Regions from separate parts of the Homo sapiens genome. Here regions 1, 2 and 4 are each linked to region 3. The links are contacts of gene promoters, found by promoter capture Hi-C in human tissues and cell types (Jung and others, 2019). All regions are on one chromosome and are shown on one strand. Each heading gives the region's core, a stretch centred on a gene start or on the middle of the fragment in contact. The rest is flanking DNA. Distances are from core to core; before and after follow the strand shown. Region 1 overlaps FBXL20 (F-box and leucine rich repeat protein 20). Region 2 holds the start of LINC02079 (long intergenic non-protein coding RNA 2079). Region 3 holds the start of CACNB1 (calcium voltage-gated channel auxiliary subunit beta 1). Region 4 overlaps LOC105371767 (a long non-coding RNA gene).

The links. The method cuts DNA at HindIII sites, captures the fragments that hold promoters and counts their contacts. A contact is called where the count stands out against the background at its distance.
Region 1: a contact is called between a fragment that was not itself captured here and the fragment with the promoter of CACNB1 in region 3, in 4 of the 25 tissues and cell types used here (adrenal gland, mesendoderm cells, spleen and 1 more).
Region 2: a contact is called between a fragment that was not itself captured here and the fragment with the promoter of CACNB1 in region 3, in 1 of the 25 tissues and cell types used here (aorta).
Region 4: a fragment that was not itself captured here is called in contact with the fragment with the promoter of CACNB1 in region 3 in 1 of the 25 tissues and cell types used here (dorsolateral prefrontal cortex).

Annotation. Positions count from the first base shown.
Region 1 is chr17:39,364,683-39,367,382 of GRCh38, forward strand. The region is part of intron 1 of FBXL20 (F-box and leucine rich repeat protein 20); the gene reads right to left. Among named protein-coding and RNA genes, the nearest start is that of FBXL20, 36 kb to the right of the region's middle. The HindIII fragment of the contact is 6,030 bases long and covers 1-2,700 here.
Region 2 is chr17:39,025,998-39,028,697 of GRCh38, forward strand. It overlaps LINC02079 (long intergenic non-protein coding RNA 2079), which reads right to left and starts at 1,113. Exons shown (of 2, transcript NR_135645.1): 1 at 1,051-1,113; 2 at 718-948. LOC105371767 (a long non-coding RNA gene) reads right to left here and starts at 1,700. Exons shown (of 3, transcript NR_188621.1): 1 at 1,553-1,700. The HindIII fragment of the contact is 3,115 bases long and covers 1-2,700 here.
Region 3 is chr17:39,196,412-39,199,111 of GRCh38, forward strand. It overlaps CACNB1 (calcium voltage-gated channel auxiliary subunit beta 1), which reads right to left and starts at 1,258. Exons shown (of 14, transcript NM_000723.5): 1 at 1,001-1,258. The coding sequence starts at 1,084. RefSeq lists silencers at 456-585, 1,016-1,415, 1,426-1,555. The HindIII fragment of the contact is 14,403 bases long and covers 1-2,700 here.
Region 4 is chr17:39,008,998-39,011,697 of GRCh38, forward strand. LOC105371767 (a long non-coding RNA gene) reads right to left here. Exons shown (of 3, transcript NR_188621.1): 3 at 49-705. Among named protein-coding and RNA genes, the nearest start is that of LINC02079, 17 kb to the right of the region's middle. The HindIII fragment of the contact is 4,299 bases long and covers 1-2,700 here.

The DNA.
Region 1 (2,700 bases), core at 171-2,670, 170 kb after region 3:
AAAGCTTTACCCTCTTGACAGACTCCTGCAGCCATCTAAGGAAGTCCACACTAAACTCCTGAATGATGAGAGATCATGTGGAGAACAAGAACTGGCTGACAGCAACACCAAAAGGTCTCAGAGTATAAGTGAGGCCATCTTAGACACGTAAGCCCCACTCAAGTCACCAAATGACTGCAGTCTTATGAGCGACCTATTGGGGAGATGGCAGGACCGTCAGGCTGCATAATGAATTGTTTTAAGCCACAAAGTTACAGGGTGGTTGTTAAATAGCAAATACTACAAAAACAGGTTCTCTATTGAAGAAGTTTATGACTCACGATCTAAATTTCATAGATTAAGAAATTTAAAAAAAGAAATTTCATAGATTAAGCAAAATTTCTAACATACAAAGGTAGCCCAATACAGGTCAAATCTTTTGGTGGTAGGAAAATGTTAATGAGAGATTAAGAATCAATTTTCATTAAAAAAAATCCAGAGTTGAAGCTGCAGAAGATTTTTTAAATGTGTATTTTTCCTATAAGTAATTTTTACTGATTATGCCATTCCTTCATTCAACCAACACCAGATGTTTTTTCCAGTTGGCCAGTTTTCTTGCCCGAATCTAAAAGGAAAAACATTTTTGTTTGGCCAGATAAACCTAAAACAAAGTAAGTTTATAATTCCTCCGCCCAACATCTTGTCCCTAGCAGAAATAAAATTGCTTTTTAGAAGCTAACTACTGCCAGTGCATTGCCGTCTCATGACTAAACTTCTCCTAAGAAAGAAATCACTAGATAAAAACATTACGGAAGGAATACATTTAGCTAACAGACACATTACTTAATAGGTCAAACTTTCTGCTTTGGACACCTTCTAACATCTGACTCAATATTCTGAGCTTTCTTTTATGCTGACTTCTGTTTCATTTACTTAACCCAAACCTATGTCCACTACCAATTCACTGCTCTCAGTCCAAAAATAGAGCATCTACACACTTTTATTTTTTTCTTTTCAGTATTTTTAATTTATTTGACATTAACCATCCTCAGCAACAGTCTAGGACCTGGAGGATTCCATGAACTCTGAAGAACTGAATATGACTGAATCTCATGTTGAACTGGTGCTGCTTAATCCTGGAAATGTTCCATGCCCTACTGAAAACTTCTTTTGAAGTTATGAAGTGAAAGGAAAGAAACTAAAATTCAAAGTGACAATATTATTTCATGTCCACCTCTCCTCCTCCTTCCTCCATTTCCCTTAGTTTCACTTCATCTGTAACACAGGAAAGAACTAAGAGGTGGATACTAAAAGACAACAACGGAATTTAAAAAAATTTTTTTTTTTTTAGAGATGGGGTCTCGCTATGTCTGAAGTAGACTGGCTATTCACAGGAGCGATCATAGTACACCCTCAAGCAATCCTCCAGCCTCAGTCTCTAAGGTAGCTGAAATTACAGTACATGCCACTGCTTCTGGCTGTATTCAGTGTAATTTTCTCACAATCTTTGTTTAAATTAAGCGTCCGTGTGAATATTTAGTATTTAGATACTACTCAGTGTCAGGACAAGCAGACAATAGGACTATGGACTCTTTCTCACCCTACATATAGGCTATCATATTTTTTTCTACTTTCTAGACTCTTTTCCCTCAACTGCTCCAAAATCTGTCACATCTGAATATTTTCCATATGCTCAAATGCATCAGATACTGTTTTTCTCTGGTGCTAAACATTCCCAGAACACTTTCTTTTCCTACACTCTAAGAAATTCCCTAGACTGGCTACACAACTGTCATCTTGGGCTCTCCAGTAGCTCTTCTCTTTTATTGCATTGTTTCCAGTACCCCATATTGTCTCACTTGCTTTTTAAGGGAACATCTCACAGTAATTTATGAAAAAACAGCTCATGGGAACTCAGGTTTTTAAGTCTCTTGCATGTCTAAAATATGTATTTACCTTAGACTCACATCTGATTGATAATTTGGCTTGCAATAAAATTATAAGATGAAAATCCTTTCCACTGAAGATATCTGAAGACACTGCTTGATGCATTTCTGACCTCGTAAGTTTCTGCTGTGATATATAATGCCATTCTAATTTGGGGTCCTTTGAATGTAACCTCTAGTTACTTTTGGAAGCTTTTAGTATATTCTCTTTATCCTCAGTTTACCAAAATTTCATCATCAAGCCTCTTGGTCTGAGGTTATTATTCTATCAGTCCTTTTTTTTTTTTTTTTCCTGAGATGGAGCCTCGCTCTGTCAGCCAGGCTGGAGTGCAGTGGCACAATCTCGACTCACTGCAAGCTCTGCCCCTGGGTTCACGCTATTCTGCTGCCTCAGCCTCCCAAGTAGCTGGGACTACAGGCACCCACCACCACGCCCAGCTAATTTTTTGTATTTTTTAGTAGAGACGGGGTTTCGGCGTGTTAGCCAGGATGGTCTCGATCTCCTGACCTCAAGATCTGCCTGCCTCAGCCTCCAAAAGTGCTGGGATTGTAGGCATAAGCCACCGCGCCCAGCCTATCAGTCCTTTCAATCTAGAAGTTTATATTTTTCAATCTGGTAAATATTTTGGAAGTTTTTCTGGTTTCTCTGTCCTCTCATTGTAGAATTCCTATTAGTCAAACATTGGACCTCCTGGTTTATCTTTTTCTTTTCTTTTTTTTTTTTTTGGAGATAGAGTCTCACTCTGTTGCCTAGGCTGGAGTGCAGTGGCGCAAT
Region 2 (2,700 bases), core at 13-2,512, 170 kb before region 3:
AAGGAAGGAAGGAAGGAAGGAAAACAAGTGTGAGATGAGGAGATGAGGAAACTTTCAGAAAAATGCTCTTATTTTCTGCTTTTAGAAACCAAAAGATGAAATGGTAAGGCATCAGGTGGGAATCAAAGTAAGTTCAAAGATGGAATAGAGACCACTGGGCTAGTAGACACTTCACATTAGAAGGTTGCAGTGAGCCTAGCCCGCGCCACTGCACTCCAGCCTTGGGTGACAGAGCGAGACTCTGTCTCAAAAAAAAAAAAAAAAAAGAATGTCTCATCATGGGGTACTACCATTATACGCAGGATTTTTTTTTTTTAGATGGAGTTTCACTCTTGTTGCCCAGGCTGGAGTGCAATGGTGCGATCTCGGCTCACTGCAACCTCAGCCTCCCAGGATCAAGCGATTCTCCTACCTCAGCCTCCCCAGTAGCTGGAATTACAGGCACACACCACCACACCCGGCTAATTTTTTGCATTTTTAGTAGAGACGGGGTTTCTCCATGTTGGTCAGGCTAGTCTCGAACTCCCGACCTCAGGTGATCTGCCTGCCTCGGCCACCCAAAGTGCTGGGATTATAGGCATGAGCCACCGCGCCCGGCCTGTGCAGGAAGTTTTAGAACGAAAAAGATTCTGAATTGATCCTTGCTAACTTTATTTCAGAAAGTGGTAAAATAGCTGTGAAGTACAGACCCAGTGAAGAGATTGTAGGTGTCAGATGTAAAGAAGAACTACACGGTTTAATTCAAGTATGTGGAGATAAAAACTCACTGGTAACATAACCAGCGTAAACATAATTCAAAACAAGCAGCAGAATTTGGAGGATAATTTGTTTCATTCTCAGGAAAATGTGAAACTCTGAAACTGCTTTTGAGTGCAGGGTATTTCTGGGGCTTTTCCTGAAGTCTTGACCCATGTCTCTGACCCCTTATTTGAAGTTTGGAGAGCAGAACTGAGGACGGTTAGAGTATTACTACAGTTGTGGACACAGGAAAGGGGTTAGTCTCCCCCCACCACCCAGGAGTAAAGGGTGCTGGGCTGCTTGAACACAGACCTTTTAGAATTCCCTTCAAACAGGATCCCAAATCTTTCCTCGCTAAGGGGAGGGGAGGGGTGTTCGGAGGTGGGGTGGGACAGGAAGTGGGGTTTGGATGGGATTGTGGGATAAGATCGCGGAGCGGATCTGGACCCGAGCCTAATAAAGGCGGTGTAAATACAGGTGTCATAAAGGACGGGGCGGGGCGCGCGGTTGTCAGGGGCGCAAGCGTCTCGGGGCTGCCAGAATGGCTCCGGCTCAGGGCGCGGCGCCAGCGCCTGTCATGTCCCAGCTGCGCCTCTGGGTCCCACGGCACCTCCTCAGGTTGGCAACTACTGTGGCTACTAGTCCAGGAGGCTCAGCCTCTGGAGTGGGTCCAGGACCGGCTCCAGCCGACTTCCGACCCTCTGGGGCCGACTGAGCCCTGGTTTTCCTGCTCCCCCAGTCTCCCACCCGAATCTCCCTTTGCGCTTACCCCCGACCCCCGCCCCCACCGGCAGACCCCGGGGACTTTGATTACCTGGGGTCCTCTGCTTCCTCCCAGATGTCAGCTCCGCCTCAGGAATCGACTGAGACTTTGACCGAGACTTTGGTTCCATTCCTGGACACAGATTCAGCTGGAGAGCTGGCCCCGGGGCCAGAGCAGTTAGCGGCTGCACACCAGGACCTGAATGACAAGCTGACTTGGCAAGAAAGGCTCCCAGAGGGGGTCTCAGTGCTGGACTGGGATCAGAAACAGACCTTTGCTCGGCCTCCTCGCCTCAAAAGTAAGGTTCATACTGCAGATCTAGATCAGGCTGCAGATCATCAGGCAAATTAAATACTTTACTTGTTCCACCTCTAGATAGTCAGAATTCAGGCCGGGCGCGGTGGCTCACATAATCCCAGTACTTTGGGAGGCTGAGGCGGGCGGATCACGAGGTCAGGAGATAAGAGACCATCCTGGATAACACGGTGAAACTCCGTCTCTACTAAAAATACAAAAAATTAGCAGGACTTGGTGGCACGCGCCTGCAGTTACTCGGGAGGCTGAGGCAGGAGAATCGCTTGAACCCGGGAGGTGGAGGTTGCAGTGAGCCGAGATCGTGCCACTGCACTCCAGCCTGGGTGACAAAGCGAGATTCCATCTCAAAAAAAAAAAAATAAATAAATAAATATAAAATAAATTAAAAAACAAAATAAAATAAATAAGATAGAATTCAAAAGCAACCAAGTTTACTGTTTCGCCCAAGAACCTGAACAAAGATCTAGCTAAGTATCTGAAGCTTGCTAAGGTTGTTGTGTGGAACTCCACACCTATTTGTATCAAAACCTCAGTGTCAGAAACAAACTTTGCAGGATGAGTATTTAGATTCAAGTATGGATACAGTGTATCGCAGCAGCCTGCCTCCAGAACTCCAGATGAACTCAGATGAGCCTCCAGGGCCCCCTGAGAGAGTTGGACTTTCTCAATTCCATGTAGAGCCTGAAACTCAAAATCCAGAGACCCTTGAAGAGATCTAGTCCTCTTCATTCCAGGAAGAAGCCCCAGAGCAGCTTCCACAGCTCACTGAAGAGGCAGAACCTTCTTCAACCCAGCAGGAGGCCCCAGCTCTGCCTTGAGGGGGTCCACTCTTCTTCAACAGAGCAGGAGGCCCCAGCACAGCAACTACCTGCCTCTGAAGAGAT
Region 3 (2,700 bases), core at 8-2,507:
AGCTGCCTCCCAGGCTCAAAGGGGCCTGGGGTGGAGGAAGGTATTTTTAGGTCTGACTTGACCCCTCTACATACCCATCAGTCACATTATCATGGTGGTTACAGCTGGTGGCCACAGTAACAGAAGAGTTAATGCTATCCTTGGAGAAGGACACTCCCAAAGAAATCCCCTGGCGCGACCATCCCAGAGCCTGCTGGTCACCCCATGAGAACCCACCGCGCCCAAGAATGCCACTTCCTGGGAGTAACCAGGGGTGTAGGAAAAGTGTGCGGGTGGGGATGGAGAAGTAGACCCCTCCCCCAGGTAAAACAGCTTCCCCCCCTCCTATGAGTTGGCATCCATCCAACTTTCCAAACTTTGGAGGCGTTTTTGGGGCGGGGGTGGGGGTGGGGTAAGTCAACGTGGGTGTGGGGGGAGGGGAGCAGGTCCGACATAGAGATGGAGCCCAGGTGGCTGGGAGGGGACCTCGACCGGGGTTGGCTCTTTCCCCACCCTCGAGAACCAGTGTCTGCGGCTTTGAAGGCCTGTTGGCATTTGGCACCGCCCTCTGACCATCGCCTCGGCCACCTCCTCGTGCCACCCCCGCCCCACCCACACCCGCCTGGCGCCCCCGAGCGTGCTCTGCGTCGCCCCCCTTGCCTGGCTCGCTTTCTAGCCTCTTTCAACCTCCCCTTCTCAAGGCCCAGATCCCCCTCCACCAGCACCCCCACGCTCAGCCCACTGAAGCTGGTGCCCAAGCGGCAGGAACCTTGACGCGGGGGAGATAAGGAGGCGAGGGTGACAGGCAGCCCACCCGCCCCCTCCCCGCTCCGCAGCATCGCCACCCAGCCCCAGGCCCAGCGCCCATCAATCACAACCTGCAAGGATGGGGGGCGCGCAGGCATCCCTCTCTCCTCCGCGCCCGGCATATAACCCCTTCCTCTCCCGCGCCTCTCGAGCCGACCTTAACACGGTCCGCGGGAGCGACCCCCTCCCGTTGGGCCGGGCCACCACGCCTCACCTGCGGGCTGGGGTCGAAGACCTCCATGGGGATCTCCTGGGAGGGTGGGTAAGGGCCCCGGGACATGCTGGTCTTCTGGACCATGGAGAGGAGCCTCCCCTCCCGCCGCCGGCCCGGCCCAGCCGGGCTCCCTCAGCGCATGGGAGAGGCCGTGGGAGCCGAAAGCAGCGCGGCGCAGCCAGCACCCGGTCCAGCCACCCAGCTCGGCCTTCGGCTGCCTCCTTCCTGCCTTCCCTCGCTCCTCCCGCTCTCTCCACTGCCGCCGCCGCCTCCCCCGTAGGCTCAGCATCTCCCCGCGCCCCTCCCTCGCTCCCTCCCTCCGCCCGCCCGGCCCCGCCCCTCGCAGCCCCTCCGCCGGCTCGGCGCACACAATGGGCGTGCGGCAGCAGGGAGGCAAGCCCCTCTCGGCTCTAGGTGGCCGCAGGTGGGCCTCTGACTGGCCGTGGGGTGCAGGCGGCCCGCTGGGGCGGGAAGGCAGAAACTAGGCGTGGAACTTGGGGGAGGGGTGGGGGGGCGGTCTACCAGTGGATGCCGAGCGCTGATGGGGATTGGCATGGCTGGCACCACCCCCCTTTTGTCCCAAACCTCTCTTCCTGCGGGTCCCCCCAACCCACTCCTGTTTGGACCACCGGAACTTCCCGGTCCCGGTGATCCTGGGACCTGGCTTTAACTCCTTTCTCCCCAGTGTGGGGCCCAGGCTGCCTCAAACCAAACAGAAAAGCCTCTCCCTCCAACATGGCTCTGGGGCTGCCGGTGGGAGGCTGAGGCTGAGATGGGGAGGGTGTCCAATAGAGACAGCAAAATAAATCCCAGGGGTCCAGGAGTTCTGCCCTAATCAGTCACTAGGATACACCGCCCCCCCAACCCCTGTTCTTCCAAAAGGCCAGGAATGGGGCTGGGTGAGGTCCCTGCTCTTGGATGAGAAAAGAGGAAGAAATATGGAGCTGAGAGAGGAGAAGCTGGTAAAATCAGATCTCATGACCTTTGACCTAGAATTGCGCCACCTTTACCCCTGATTTAGGGAGAAACATCCAAGATCTGGATGCCACCCACCATGACTGGTGGAGAGAAGAGGAATAGGAGATTCTGGGCAATAGACTCTGGCGCCAATTTGGCTCAGGCTGTTTCTGGTTGTATAGCCCCGGACAAATCACCTCTCTGAGCATCAGTTTCCTCCTCTCCTATAAAATGGGGTTGCTGGTACTGTGGAGTCTGTGTCACCTGGTATTATTGGGAGGATGAGGGAGAATTAAATGAATTGCTGGGGTGTTTGGAGAAGCTGTAAGTTTCAATGAAGGGGTCACTCATGACAGGAGGACCCATTCCCTTCCTACTCCACCCCTTCTCCTGCTCCACAGAAAGGAGAGATGGAGAAGACCCTCTCCAGGTCAAGTGACCTTACAATAAGGCCACCACCTTGCTGTGTTCCGCAGGACAGGAGACTATGGGACTCCTCCTCCTCACCCAACTCTAATAGCAAGTGAATGGTCAGTCTGTCATTCCTCTGATCACAACACCTTGGGGAAGGCGGAGCAGTGAGTGAAGATGAAGCCCATTAGAAACGTTCCAGGAGAGTTCCAACCCTGAGCAGGGTTTCCACCTGCCCCTTGGAGACAAGAAAGGCTGGCATAACCGCAAAAGTATGGGCTTTGCAATCAGAAATATCTGTGTTCTGAATCTGTTACCTTAGCTGTAAAATG
Region 4 (2,700 bases), core at 159-2,658, 190 kb before region 3:
AGGCTGGCCTGAGGTACAAGTACAAATTATATACTTCAGACCCTTTACTGAAACTCCTGGAGGGCATTTATTTTATTATTATTACCTTATTTATTTTTTAGAGACAGGATATCACTCTGTCACCCAGGCTGGAATGCAGTGGCACAATCATGGTTCATTACAGCCTCAACCTTCTGGGCTCAAGTGATCCTCCTGACTTAGCCTCCAAGTAGCTGGGACTTCAAGTGCATCCCACCATGCTCAGCTAATTTTTAGCTTTTGCAGAGACTGGGGGGTGGGTCTCTCTATGTTGCTCAGGCAGGTCTTGAACTCCTGGCCTCAAGCCATTCTCTCATCTTGGCATCCTAGTGCTGGTATTATAGCTGTTTTGAGCCACCATGCCTGGCCTCTTTTATTATTTTTCAATGTGGAAAGTAGAGATGAGAGAGGACAGGGGCAATGGTGGGGTTTGTTCCTGGGTTCACAGCTCTGCTGTCACTGTGAGGGAGCTACAGAGGTGGGGAGGGGCAGACCAGGAAAGCAGACCCCTGAAATACAATGTCATTTGCAGATCCAGCCTCTTGTTTTCCATCCTGGACATTCTTCCATTACCAGGCAGCCAACACTTCCCAGGCTGTCCTGGGACTCGCAGTTCTGTCTACCTGGGCACAGTTTCAGGCTCCAGCTGGCAAGGCAGCCCCATCACTTTCTGCAGAGGAGCATGTGCTGGAATAGGAGACAGTGAGATCACAGGAATTCATTAGCATCCCATATTCATTTTCTTTTCCTTTCTAGGCCTTCTCCCCAACCCTCTACCCGACACCCACCTCAGTCATTTTTTTTTTTTCCCTTAGAGTAGCTGGGGGAATCTGTCAAAGCCAGTTCAGGAGCTTGCCTTTTCTGGTGTCTTTTCTAAAACTACGGCATTCAGCCCTCACCAGATGGGAACCTATCAGCTCAGCAGGCAGATAATTATTCTTTCAAGGGTGGGAGGCCCTACCATGAATGGAAATTCAGGCATTTCTGCAGCTGAGGCCCCAAAGCCCCATCATGGAAGCAGTGCACATACAGCAGACAAGCTTTACCTGGGCAAGTCTGCAGGAAGTGCTGGTCAGTGGAGGTGCGAGGAGTGAGATATAGGATGGATTCGTGTTCCCTTCCCCATGAAGCAGTGTGGAACCCACTGGACCCACTCCTGAAGTCTCTCCTTAGGGACCAGTGCAAGCCAGCCCAGTTTTGGTCTGGCTGAAGGGGGTCACCTCCTCTGTGAGGATCCAGAACTCAAGATCAGATATTAGGATGCACAGATTTCTCCTCATTTGATGGAGGAAAATTCTAATAACCAGCTGCCAACAGTGGAGCATGCTGCCAGGAAGGTAATGAGCTCCCTGTTGTTGGAAGTATTCAAGCAGATGCTGGCTGGCCACCTTCCAAGGATATTGCAAAAAGAAGACCTGACATGAATGAGAGTTTGCCTCTTATGTCCTCCAAAGTCTCTTTACCTTTATTGGTTCTCATGGTGTAAAGGGTGAACTTGGAGTCACCATAGGCCCAGGGTTCAAGTCCTGGCTGTACAGCTAGCTGGCTAGATGGCCTTGGGCAAGACACTTAATTTCTTTATGAAATTATATAGGTATATTTTATTTTTCTGATAATGGGTGATAATTATAAAAAAAAAATTTATTGGCCAGGTGCAGTGGCTCGCACCTGTAATACCAGCACTTTGGGAGGCCAAGGCAGGTGGATCACAAGGTCAGGAGACCGAGACCATCCTGGTTAACACGGTGAAACCCTGTCTCTACTAAAAATACAAAAAAATTAGCTGGGCGTGGTGGCGGGCGTCTGTAGTCCCAGCTACTTGGGAGGCTGAGGCAGGAGAATGGCATGAACCTGGGAGGCGGAGTTTGCAGTAAGCCGAGATAGCGCCACTGCACTCCAGCCTGGGCGAAAGAGTGAGACTCCATCTCAAAAAAAAAAAAATTATTATGGACACTTTCTATCCTAATATGTACAGTTTTAATGTATCTTTTTTAATTTTTAATTTTTGTGGGTACATTTTTAAATTTTGTGGGTAATTTTCTGGGTACATATATACAGTAGGTGTATATATCGGGTACATGAGATATTTTGATACAGGTATATAATGTGTAATAATCACATTAGGGTAAGTGGGGTATCCATCACCTCAAGCATTTATTCTTTGTGTTACAAATAACCCAGATACACTCTTTTAGTTATTTTATTTTTTTTTTTTTGAGACAGGATCTTTCTCTGTCACCCAGGCTAGAGGGCAGCGATGTGATCACAGATCTCTGCAGCCTTGACCTTGCTCAAGCAATCCTCTTACCTCAGCCTCCAGAGTATCTAGGACCACAGGCGCCTGTCACCATGTCTGGCTAATTTTTGTATTTTTTGTACAGTTGAGGTTTCACCATGACGCCCAGGCTGGTCTTGAACTCCCACGTTCAAGCAATCCTCCTGCCTTGGCCTCCCAAAGTGCTGGGATTACAGGCGTGAGCCACCATGCCCAGCCTTCTTTAATTATTTTAAAATGTACAGTTAAATTATTATTGACTATAAGTCATCCTGTTGTGCTATCAAATAAAGATCTTATTCATTCTTTAACTATTTTTTTGTACCCATTAATTATCTCTGATAGGATAGGAGGCAGGGAAATTCTGGGCAGAAGAGGGCAGGTCCCTGGTGAGGGCCCCGTCCTCA